Regions from separate parts of the Homo sapiens genome. Here region 1 is linked to region 2. Evidence: promoter capture Hi-C in 16 types of primary human blood cells and fetal thymus (Javierre and others, 2016). All regions are on one chromosome and are shown on one strand. Each heading gives the region's core, a stretch centred on a gene start or on the middle of the fragment in contact. The rest is flanking DNA. Distances are from core to core; before and after follow the strand shown.

Region 1 (6,626 bases), core at 2,161-4,660, 360 kb after region 2:
AAGGGATGGCCATGCCAGCTCTCCTGGGCATACAACAGCCTTGCCACTCCCTCCCTCAAAAGCCTTCTATGGCTCCCATAGCCAACAGGATAAAGTCTAGATGGGCCTCCTAGCTTAGCATTTAAGGCCCTTCCCACTTCTCTGCATTCGTTGCCTCTTACACTCTGAAGTCACGAATGCCTGGCCTTAAATCCAGGTTCCAGCAGTTGTTAGCTGTGTGACCTTGGGCAAAATGCTTAATCTCTCCATGTCTCAGTTTGCTCATTTGTAAAATGGGGATAACAACAGTACCTACCTCGTAAGGTTACTGCAAGGATAAATGAGTTAGTGTATGGAGAGCATGTAGAACAGTGGCGGCACACGGCGAGGGTGCACAGAAAGTCAGCACAATTGTAACTTATTGTTGTGATTGCTGTTGTTACCACCTCTGCACTTTGGTCTTCACTGGCCTCTTTCCAGACGTCGATATGTCCACACCTCTACAGCCCTTCCCCGACCCTCAAATCTAGCCTGTCTTCTGAGCCCAGCCCTGGGGCTCCCTCGTCTATGAAGCCCTCCCAGATGTCCTCACTCCATGCCAGGCCCCACAACAGGAGCCAGCAGTATACCAGGCTAGACTCACCCTCCCTCAGGCCCTCAGTCTAATGAGAAAGATGGACTTCCAACAACAATCACAGGGGGACCTGGCAGAGGTCACAGAGGACCCCACAGAGTAGACACAATTACTCCCATTTCAGAAAAATGGAGGCTCTGACAGCTTAAATGACTTGCCCAAAGACACAACTACCAATGACATAAAATTTAAGATTTTTTCTTAAATGATTTCCAAATCCAGAAATTTGTAACAGACTCTGGACAACCAAGTTATCAGTGCCATTTGCCACAGTGTAGGCAGGGATCTTGCCAGGCAGATCCTAGAGTCACCACTGAAATGTGGATGATGATGACTGTGCCCTCTGAGAGGCCTCTTCTCCCATCACTGCACTTGCTGTGCTCCAGTTACTCCAGTTGCTCTGGGCTCCCCAGGTAAACCCTACTTCCCTTCCCATACCTCCTACTTTCCCCCATGCTATTCCCTGAGGCCCCAAATTTGCAAATTCCTATTTCTCCTTTAGATCTCAGCTAAAATGGCTTCAGGGAAGCCTTTCCTAAAGCTCCATGCTCCCTCAAGCTTTGCTTTCGTAGTATTTACCATAATTCATAAATATTTGTGAAATATCTGCTCAGGCCTGTCTTCCCTGAAGACTATAAATTCCATGAGCCCAGGGGATGTGTAGGTCTTGTCATCCCCATCTCCTCAATGCCTAGCAGGCTGGCATCCATTAGGTGCTTATTCAAATAATATTTTTAAATAAATGAATTAAAGAATGGGGAATATATGAGTGATGAGAAAGAGAAAGAATGACAAAGGGGAGAAAAAGGATATGAATGGAAGCCATCCAAAGGGCATAGATGGAAGCAACAGAGAAGACCAGCAGAGAAAAAAGGAAAGGCGTTTCAATACCTTAGCCAGAGCAGGAATGAGTAAAATTGAGAAAGAAAAGTCGCAGTTTCCATAAGCAGAAATAGTGCTCATATATTTGATAAAAAGTTAATAAGCTATTAGTCCCATTAATAAAGAAAAATATGTACATTATGTAAGTTAAGAATGATAGCTATCCAATCTTCAGGAATTCATTCATTCAACAAGTACTTATTGAGCACCTACTAATTGCCAGGCTGTGATCTAGGAGCTGGAGATGCAGCAGTAAACACACACACAAAATAAAATTCCTGTGGTCATGAAGCTCCCATTCTAAGAAGGGGAGACAAAGGAATACTGTATATCCTTGTTCATATAACTGAACATTCTTGTTTATAAACTTTTTGTTGATGAATAAAATTAACCTCAAGTGGTCTGAATTATTTCCCTTAGCCCCACTCATTGAAAAACATTAAGCTAATGTTTAAAGATGAGTGGAGGGGATGCTCTATAAATGAATCTACAAGGATCTTTGGGAAAATAAATTTTAAAGATTCTTCCATGGTAAAGAGAAAAGGCACCCTTGGATTATAAGAAGTTAGCATTCCCTCACTTGTTATTAGTGGTGTAAATTTTAAAAAATTAGGTGAAAAAAGATTTTAAATCTTCACATGACATAATGCAAAGCTACGCTTTTACTATTTATGTATCTATTTAACTTTTTTTTGAGACAGAGTCTCACTCTGTCATCGAGGCTGGAGTGTAGTGGTGTGATCTCAGCCCACTGCAACCTCTGCCTCCTGGGTTCAGCGATTCTCCTGTCTCAGCCTCCCGAGTAGCTGAGATTACAGGTGCCGGCCACCACACCTGGCTAATTTTTGTAGTTTTAGTAGATACAGGATTTTGCCATGTTGGCCAGGCTGGTCTCAAACTCCTGACCTCAGGTGATCCGCCACCTCGGCCTTCCAAAGTACTGAGATTGCAGGTGTGAGCCACTGCACCCAGCCTATTTTTTTTTTTTTAAGGAATCTGTGAAATAAATATTCTAAAAGCTGTGGCAACAAGCTTGTAAATCTCAGCTATTTTTACAAGTCTGAGTGGAAATGGACAAGCATCTGCAAAAATCCAAGATGCCCAGTCTGCCAGCCACTAGGCCCCTCTGTGAGAGAGGGCAGGGGGTTCCTCATTTACAAAGCATACCACCACCACTTCATACCTTATCTGGGAGGCAGGTGGCATGATTGCATTCCCATTTTACAGATGAGAAAACTCAGAGAGGGAAGGTGACCTGCCCAAGGCTCTAGGGGGAGTTAGTAGAACTCTGGGCAGTCCCAGACAAGGAGCCTCCTGGCTGCACCTAGCTGCCTTCTTCAAAGGCACATATGTCTGACAGAGCCACAGAAAAAACAAGGTCAAACATTGAAAAAGGTGCACGGCCTTGATGGAATCCCTAAATAATTCTTCAACTTTTAAAGAATAAATCAATAGGCTGGGCGCGGTGGCTCACGCCTGTAATCCCAGCACTTTAGGAGGCGGACACGGGCGCATCACTTGAGGTCAGGAGTTTGAGGCCAGCCTGGCCAACATGGCAAAACCCTGTCGCTACTAAAAATACAAAAATTAGCTGGGCGTGTAATCCCAGCTACTCAGGAGGCTGAGGCAGAAGAATCGCTTGAACCTAGGAGGCAGAGGTTGCAGTGAGCCAAGATCCAGCCATTGCACTCCAGCCTGGGTGACAAGAGCAAAACTCCATCTCAAAAAAAAAAAAAAAAAAAAAGGCGGGTCGCGGTGGCTCATGCCTGTAATCTCAGCACTTTGGGAGGCTGAGGTGGGTGGATCACGAGGTCAGGAAATCGAGACCATCCTGGCTAACACGGTGAAACCCCGTCTCTACTAAAAATACAAAAAATTAGCCGGGCATGGTGGCGGGCGCCTGTAGTCCCAGCTACTTGGGAGGCTGAGGCAGGAGAATGGCGTGAACCCGGAAGGTGGAGCTTGCAGTGAGCCGAGATTGCGCCACTGCACTCCAGCCTGGGCGACAGAGCGGGACTCCATCTCAAAAAAAAAAAAAAAAGAAAAGAAAAAAAAATCATCCAGTCTGGCCAACATGGTAAAGCCCTGTCTCTACTAAAAATACAAAAAAATTAGCCAGGCATGGTGGCAGGCGCCTGTAATCTCAGCTACTCAGGAGGCTGACACAGGCGAATCATTTGAACCCGGACGGAGGTTTCAGTGAGCTGAGATCGCACCACTGCACTCCAGCCTGGGTGACAGAGCAGGACTCCATCTCAAAAAAAAAAAGAAAAGAATAAATCAATAATTCGTACAAAAATATTTTAAAAGACAAAAATGAGATAAAAAGAAAAAAAAACCCTATGGCCAAAATCTCACTTGTGAATATATAGGCAAAAACCTGACATGAAATCTTAGCTAACCAAATTCACAGTCATATTATCTCTAAAATGAAAGGTGCAGACAACAGGAGAGAAGTCAATCACTGGCTTCATAACATGGAAAATATAGATCTACAGTTCAAGTTTAATTTTCCCAATACATGTCAACATACCATGAAGTAGCCCGTAGCATCTATTCTTTATTAAAACTACAGACAAAACAAAACCCCACAATGAAGAGAGACTATTTTAAATAATGATCCAACTCTGACTTCATTGAGATACACTGAAGTTCAGCCCTGTCATTTTCCAAATGGAGAAACTAGAGAAACAAGGCTCAGAGAGATTAAGTAGCTTGCTTTGCCTAAGGTTACTCAGCTGGTCTATGGCAGAGCCAGGTCTCAAACCCATGTCTTCTGATTCCAAGTCTGAAGCTTTCTGTCATCATTCCCATTTTATATATGATGAGAAATGCTAGCAATAGCTATCAGAAAAAAAGAAACAAAAAAGCATAATACATAGAAGATGAAGAAATAAAATATTACACTGCAGATAACGTATTTGCCCACCTGGAAAATCTTAAGGGGGTGGGTGTGGTTACTAGAGGAAATCAATGAATTTTAGAATGCAAGCCAGCATCTCAGCTCAAAAACACAGGGAAAAGTTTTCACTCACAATAGTAGTGAAAGCATTAAGCTATTACATTCTTGGATGTACTTGGGCCACAGTAATACTTATTCAAATAAAACAATAAAAAAATAATAAAACCAGCTGGGCGCGGTGGCTCACGCCTGGAATCCCAACACTTTGGGAGGCAGAGGTAGGCAGATCATGAGGTCAGGAGGTCGAGACCATCCTGGTTAACACGGTGAAACCCCATCTCTACCCCATCTCTCCAGGCATGGTGGCGGGCGCCTGTAGTCCCAGGTATTTGGGAGGCTGAGGCCTCCCAAGAGAATCGCTTGAGCCTGGGAGGTGGAGGTTGCAGTGAGCTGATATTGCACCACTGCACTCCAGCCTGGGCAACAGAGCGAGACGCCGTCTCAAAAAAAATAAATAAATAAAACCTTCATGGAAGAAATAAAAGATATGAAGTTTACACTGTCCTAGCTAGAAAAACTTAGTAAAGCAAAAAAGAGAATTCTCCCTAATTTAATAACTAGATTAAATAAACTATTACTAATTAAAATCCCCAGGATGTTTTTCTAAACATTAGAAATAATGTGATAAAAGAATAAATGTGAGCCTATCAAAGAATAATAATAAAGCAAATGACAAACTCAGTTTTTGTTAAATAATTTATACAAAAGAATATTTGTATCATGTCTAAGATATAACGAATGACAATAAAATGAATATCTGTGTACTTACCACCCAACTGAAGAAAGATAAAATTTCCAGTATCTTTGAAACTCCCTATGTGCCCACTCCAATGACATCTCCTCTTTCCTAACCTCTTTAGAGGTAACCACCATCCTCACTTTCATGTTCATCATTTTCTTACTTTGTTTTCCATGAGTGTACCTAACCCTAAACAATGTATTGTTTAGTTTTGCACACTTTTGAGATTTATATAAATTATAGAGTATGTAATCTCTACAAGTTCACAATACACTGTATAGAATTCACTGTACAGAATACACCATAATTTATGTTTCTGCTACCCTGCCAATAAACATTAAGGTCATTTCCAATGTTTTATATTATAAAGATATATATGTTCTGATATATCTCCTCGAACACACATGCCAAGAGTTTCTTTACAATATAGGCCTAGGAACTTGCTGTAATGTAGGACATACATATGTGCAAATTTATCTGAATAATGCCTACTTGTTTCCCAAAGTAGTGATACACCACTGCCACCTAGCAGTGCCTAAGGACCCAACTACACCATATCCTCACCAACAGTTGGCATTATCATGCTTTTAATGTTTTTCTAATCTAGTTGTTATGAAATGGTATCTCGTTTTCACTTTTATTTGCATTTCCTTGATTACCACTGAGCACCTTTTCAGTTTATCTTCTGTGAATTGCCCGGTAAAGTCTCTTGCCTGTATTTCTATTGGGTTGCTTTTTTCCTTATTTTCTTGAGATTCTTGTTTGTCTCTATTCCTTACTTAAGAATTCTTCAGGCCGGGCGCCGTGGTTCACGCCTGTAATCCCAGCACTTTGGGAGGCCGAGGTGGGTGGATCACAAGGTCAGGAGTTCAAGACCAGCCTGGCCAACATGGTGAAACCCCACCTCTACTAAAAAAAATACAAAAATTAGCCAGGCACGGTGGCGTGTGCCTGTAAACCCAGCTACCTGGGAGGCTGAGGTGGGAGAATTGCTTGGACCTGGGAGGCAGAGGTTGCAGTGAGCCGAGCCACTGCACTCCAGCCTGGGCGACAGAAAAAGACTCCGTCTCAGGAAAAAAAAAAAAAAATTATTCATATATTTTGTCTACTAATCTCTTATCAATTATATATGTGTTTCAATATTCCCCCCAGTTTGCCTCAGCTGGTCTATTTCTTATGCTGGGATCAAAACTAAACTATTTTAATTACTTTCTGTGTTAGAAGTTATATTATCTTATTTCTATTCTTGTAGTGGTTACTCTATACATTTACATTTTAACATCTCAACGTGGCATTCAATAGCTGTACCATCTATTCTTGATCAAAACTACAGAAAAATCAAAACAAAACCCCACAATGAAGACAGACCATTTCAATAAGGAACCAACTCTAACTTTGTGAAGATACACTGGAATGGCCTCACTTCAAAA
Region 2 (6,382 bases), core at 3,587-6,086:
ATTTGAAAAAATGAGCTCTCTGTGTCATCCCAACAAGTCTGGGTGACATAAAAAATGCCCACTCAAAGGAGATCATTAGCTGCTTCCAAGTGGGAATGACACAACTGAATTGAGAATGGAGAGATGGTGGTATTTTTCATTTTGGGCAATCTGACTGGACTGAAGAGAAACAAGACAAGGGTAATAAAAATTAAAGTCTTGCCCTAAAGGCCTCCATATGCTTAGGAAGAGGCTTAAAGCACAACTCATGGCTACCTGGCAGCTTCCTACTCATCCTTCAACCACCAGCTCAAATGTCACCTCCTTTGATAGGAGTTCCTTGACATGCCCTTTTCATGTCCTGCCCTCCAAGAATTGCCTCCCTGATCCTATATCACCAAAGCAATTGGTACATACCTCTAATATAGGTATTATCCTACACTATTGTAGTTACCTGTTACTATATCTGACACCCACATTATACTATATTACTAGAATCAGTATTGTATGTTACTAATTTCTGTATCCACAGTGCTCAACCCAGTATCTGATAAATAGCAGGGCCATTAAAAAGTTTTATTACCATGTATTAAAATGATAAACCTGGCGTATCAAAAGCCTAATGGGATACAGATATTCCATAATTTATATTAAACTAAACTATTTCTGTCTACCTACATTACTGCTATAAGCACTCAGAGAGATCACATATGTAGAAAGATTTTGCCTTTCATGAAATTTCTTTTTGAACCTAAAGAATTCGCCTTTCATGAAATTTCTTTTTGAACCACAACCTTATTGATGCATGAGTTCAAACACATTTCTGTCACCCTCTCACACAAGGAGCAATTCATCAATCATTTATAGAGTACCAGCTATACCCTGTTTGGAAGCTACAGATCTACCAGTAGCTGGGACTGACAGTCCCTACCTTCAATAAAATTACAGTCTAGTGAGACAGACAGTCAATAAGCAAGCAAAGACATTTGCGTTCCTGCACAAACAGGACACTACAACAAAATAGGCAATTAGCAGTCACACCAGGCCCAAAGCTCAGAGTCTCAGATAATAGGTATTTTCTCCTGGAAAGACTTGAAAGTCCCAAAGGTTTGTTTCAAATAGAAATCGGAAAGCCCCAGGGACCACATATCACCATAACCTTTTTTTTCTAAGGAACCATAACCGTAACTTTCTAAGGAAGTTAGACCGAAGTATGGATAGCAGGCTATTGTGGGGAGAGGGAGGCCAACAGAGTCGGCCAACAGCCGGGTGACTTCACACAGAAGTGAACAAGGGAAAATGGACCGGGGCATTCCTCAGTTCCGAGATGACCAGGAATATCGAGCCTCATTAGGACCAGCAATTTCTAAGAGTACCCCTTTACTGAGTGCCCACAAGGTGCCAGGCACAGTGCTGTGTTCCACATTCATAATCTCACTGAAGCCTCCAGGCAGCAACTGGAGTCTCATTAGGTGTTGAGCTGCATTTCACTGATCTGTAACTTCCACTGCAAAGATCAGAAAGAGAGAAAGAGGGCCGGGCGCGGTGGCTCACGCCTGTAATCCCAGCACTTTGGGAGGCCGAGGCAGGGAGATCACAAGGTCAGGAGTTCGAGACCAGCCTGGCCAACATGGTGAAACCCTGTCTCTACTAAAAATACAAAAAAAAAAAAAAAATAGCCAAGCGTGGTGGCTCGTACCTGTAATCCCAGCTACTCGGGAGGCTGAGGCAGGAGAATTGCTTAAACCCAGGAGGCGGAGGTTGCAGTGAGCTGAGATCGTGCCACTGCACTCCAGCCTGGGCAACAGAGCACGACTCTGTCTCAGAAAAAGAAGAAAAAAAAAAGAAAGAGAGAAAGAGCATGATTTAAATAGTGCAGCCAGTTGCGTTCACTATCTGTTCGAGAATAAGCATGTGGTGGTGGCACCTAGGACTTCGCTATTCACCAGGTTGGTCTTGATTCCCTCGTGCCTCTCTTTCCACTAAGTGTGAGTAAAGTGTCTTTCATACCGCACAGTCCCTAATACAAGCGAATTCTCATCTAATGTTCAAACAAGAAAGCCCAGCTGTGCTGATTAGTTTATTTATTGAAAGGCAGCGTGTTAGTTTCTGAAACGGCTCCTTGCCAAAGGATTTTCAAACTAACTGTGATTTTTGGCTAAAGTGATTTTCACCCTTAGAATATTATTATCTGATAAGGTATGACTGCACTATATCCTCAATTACCTAAAGGGAAACTGAGTGTTTATGAAGATTCACTTAAGGTTACACAACTAGCAAGTGGTAGAGTTAGGGTCTAAGCCGAGATCCCTTTTCTCCAATCATTTTTCTTAACCATGTCTTATAGCCTCCTCTATGTGTGCTAGTCATCCAAACTCTTAAGATGACAGTACGGGAGAATGGAAAGAACATTAAGGCAGGAGTGAGCAGACTGGGGTTCTAGTTCCACTCCTGCCACTAATCAGCTGTGTTACTTTGGACAAGTTATGTAGCCCCTGTGGCTGCCTAGCTAGGCTGCAGCTTACAGCCTGATCTTACTCAGCAGTTGCCCTAGGTTCCCCAATTAGTATGATGGGGTAGAGCAAGGGAGAAGGGAGACTAGAGTCAGTGGCTACAAGTTTAAATGGGTATAAGGACCTAGCAATGTAAATGAGTCAATGACTGAAATGAACTGGGTGGGCACTACAGCCAACTATAGAGTGCCAGGGGAACATATGCCCAGAATATTCCTAAGCCTGCTGATTTTTCCAAAAGAAACTAGCACTCTGGATTTTTAAATGTTGGTAACCAACTCAAAATTTTTTCACACACTATGAGATTAAATAAAGCATGATGGTGGACTTCATTCAGCATGGGCTGTCGCTTTGCCACTTAGATTCAGCTAAGTGATCTCAAAGCTCTCTTCCAATATCCAGAAAGACCTAGAAAGAGTACAGAGCCTCCCAGGTCATGAGGGATAAGTGCTGACTGCCATCAAAATCAAGATGTCTTTACAAACACAGGGAAGCTGAGGGGCATCTTGACTCCTAGGGCAGTAAGTATGAACGTGGTCATGAGGAGCCCACTCAGTGAAAAGGGAAGAGAAGATGCTCTCCAGTTCCACAGGAAAGGCCAAGACTGGTCTGTGACCTCCAAAGAGAAAAAACTGGGAACTCTTAAAGGCTGTCAGGCCCATTTGGCTGACAGTCCAAGCTATGGCTTAAAGCAGTCTGACCTGACCTCACACATAAGGGCTTAAGCCAGGGAGAGCAAATAGGTTTCATTTAAAGCAGAAACTTCAATCAACTGGAAGTGGCTGCCTAGAGTAGTGTGCTGAGGGCTCTGAGTACAGTGTGAATATGTGCTGAGAACCAACCAATTAGCCATGACTGCCAGGGACACAGGAAGGGGCACTGGCAGCACACATTCCATGTATTTGTCACCCCTGGCTTAAACTCCCATTGGCAATGAATCAGCTTCAGCTTCCAGCAGATAGCCTTGCCAGGCAGAGGAAGACTAAAGCTCCTGCCCTGGAAATCCACTGGCAATAGAAGTCTTCAAGGCTGGTATAGCAAAGCTTACCCTGCATGGTCTTCATTCACACATACATACATCAAGTATTTACTGCTTTACATCAAGTGTTTACTGCTCTAGACTGGGCAATGGGGAAACAGAGGTGATTGAGACACTGTTCCTGTCCTGGAGATGTTCACAGTCTAATGGAAGAGACACACACTTCACAGATAATTATGATCAAATGTGGTAATAGGAGAAGTTATGGGAGCTGAGGGTTGGGGGTGACTTAATTTGCTTAAGGGAATTGAGCAAAGTAAGAGTTGAAATTTTTTTAAGTTAAAGAAGTTCTCTTGGCAAAGAAGGTGAAGGGCAAGGAGAGAATATTCTAAGCTGAGAGAACAGCATATATAATGATGGAAAACCAAATGGCCTACCCAGGAAACGAGGAAAACCTTGACAGCCCTGGAGTGTGAGGTGCATGAAGATTAGGCTGCAAAAGGAGTTTATGAAGGACAAGGTGTTTGGACTTTACAGGTGCTGGGTGCCAATGAAAGTTTTCAAGCAGAAGGCATAATCAGATTTGTAGGTGAAACAGATCACACTAGGTGCAATGTGTGTGTTCATGCTGGGAAACTGAAAAGGCTTCTGCGAAAACCCTACAAGAAAGAGGCCGACTGAAAAGATATTAAAGAAATTAAAGATCGGAAGATCCTTGGACGTGGAAGAATGCAAGAGGAATCAGTGGGTAAGTAGGTAGGTAGGTAGGTAAATGGGATGATCGTGCCACTGACTTCCATAAGACATAAGGAAAGAAGTGCAGGTTTGGGGCAGAACACAATAGCCAGTCCCATCCACTGGGTTCCAGAGGTAACAATCATTAGGGAGGTAACAAATTAGATATGCTTGTTCTAGATGGGAAGGTAGAGATTGAAACACTATTTTTAAGGTCGGGCTTCAAGCTCAGGCCCTCTTCACTTCTTGCCAGGGCCCCAGACCCTCTATCCTTTCCTCTGTGGTCTCCAGACCTTTCTATGACTCTCCCACCTCCAAAACCTCCCTCAACCCCCTCACCTTCAGACCCTTCTAAGGCCCTCCTCATTCCCAGGGCCCTCTATCGCCTCCTCATCCCCGACCCCTGTATGACCCTTCCCATCTCCGGCCTCTACATCCTTTGACCGTCCCTCACCCTCCACCCCCACATATAAGCTTCTTTCTCCCCTCTCACCTTCCCCAGCCCCCTGTGTCACCACCACCTCCTAAGTCTCCAGCCCAGAGCCTGCGTCTCAGCTGCCCCCGCCCCGCCACCCGGACTCACCCACCGAGACACCCACTTCACAACAGGGCGGAAGTGCTCCCGGGCTCGTGCGGGGAATGCTGGGACGCGGAGTCCGAGCGGCGCCACCCTGGGAATGGAACGTCTGAGACCACAATTCCCAGAAGGAACCGCGCGAGCGCCGGGGGCGGCCCCCTCCGTTTGCTGCCTTTCAGACGTCTTCAGCCAATAGATATGTCATCTTCTAACGGACCCTGGCACTGGAACAAATCGGAACGGGCGCGACACATGGGGGCGGGACCTGTTGCGATCCTGGCCTTTTCCATAGGCTTCCGGATAACAGCACCGCCCAATGGGAGGGCACTCGAGCAGAAGGGGGCCCAGTTCTACTGAGGGGTCGAAGTGAGAGCCTCAGACCCTGAAAGATCAAAGCAGACACAATAAGAAATAAGAAGAGAGAATGACTAGAGGTGACCAGCCCGATAGGCAGGAGAGAACTGGACAGTTGTAGCTTTAATTTCCAGCTTACAGCTAAGCTGTGTGACTTTGGAAGAATTCTGAACCTCGTTCTCTTCAACCATAAAATGAGGGTAGTAATGGCATCCATGTCACAGAGTTTTGTGAACTTTCAATGAGATAATACACCTAAAACGATTAGCTCAGGGCCTGGCTCCTAATAATGCACAGCGATTGTTAGCTATTATTATGTAAATCAGTTAGTACAGAGCTTGGCACTTCCTAGGTGTTGGAAGAATGTTAATCATTATTACAAAATAATCCTCATATAAATGCGGGTGCTCTGTACCACTGTGAATACTTTGGGGCATGAACAATCTAATGTGGTGTTGAGAATGGGGGCTTTGTAGTCAGACATGGATCCAAATCCCAACTCAACTACTTCGCAGCTGTGTGGCCTTGAACAAATTACTGCCATCTATTTTGTCTTTGGAATTTTCATCTATAAAATGCAAGTAATGTAAGAGAACTTACATCACAGGGTGTTATGAAGGTTAAATGAGACTATTTAGGTAAAAGTCTCTGAAGTCAAGCTGCTTGTGTCTGAAAGTTCTTACTTTCAAATGAAGGATGCAGGTCATACCACCCGCGTTGTGAAACCTTGGGCAAATTACTTAGCTTCTTTATGCCTGCATTTTCCCAGCTGTAAAATGGGAATGATAATACTTGCCTCTTCCTGAGACAGTTGTTGAGAGGAATAAATGGGAGAAGGTATGTAAAGAGCGTGACACATGTCTGACACACAGAAAGTGTTTAATAATCATTAGCTAGTCCAGGCACGGAGGCTCATGCCTGTAATCCCAGCCCTCTGGGAGGCTGAGACGGAAGGATCGCTTTAGTCCAGGAGTTTGAGACCAGCCTGGGCAGCGAAGTGAGACCTCGTCTCTATTTTAAAAAATAGAAAATACAATAATATACATAATCATTAGCTATTATTATTATTACCAATGGTTATGCGGCTTAGGGAAAATTGACAATACCTAGCATCTGGTAAGAGCTCAATGCATGTTGGCTAGTGTTAAAATAGGAGAATTCTTAGCTTTAACGACCCAGTTTAAATTCCTTCTCTGTGAAACATGTTCCAACTTATTTGTAGTAATAACTCATGTGATTTTACTC

The links. Contacts are between HindIII fragments. The CHiCAGO score rates a contact against its expected background, and 5 or more counts as called.
Region 1: a contact is called between a fragment that was not itself captured here and the fragment with the promoter of ZSCAN20 in region 2, in 1 of 17 cell types (endothelial precursors). The highest score is 5.8, in endothelial precursors.

Annotation. Positions count from the first base shown.
Region 1 is chr1:33,111,266-33,117,891 of GRCh38, reverse strand. All of the region lies in intron 10 of AZIN2 (antizyme inhibitor 2), which reads right to left. Among named protein-coding and RNA genes, the nearest start is that of AZIN2, 33 kb to the right of the region's middle. The HindIII fragment of the contact is 1,762 bases long and covers 2,530-4,291 here.
Region 2 is chr1:33,471,099-33,477,480 of GRCh38, reverse strand. It overlaps ZSCAN20 (zinc finger and SCAN domain containing 20), which reads right to left and starts at 4,836. Exons shown (of 8, transcript NM_001377376.1): 1 at 4,790-4,836. The HindIII fragment of the contact is 14,362 bases long and covers 4,683-6,382 here.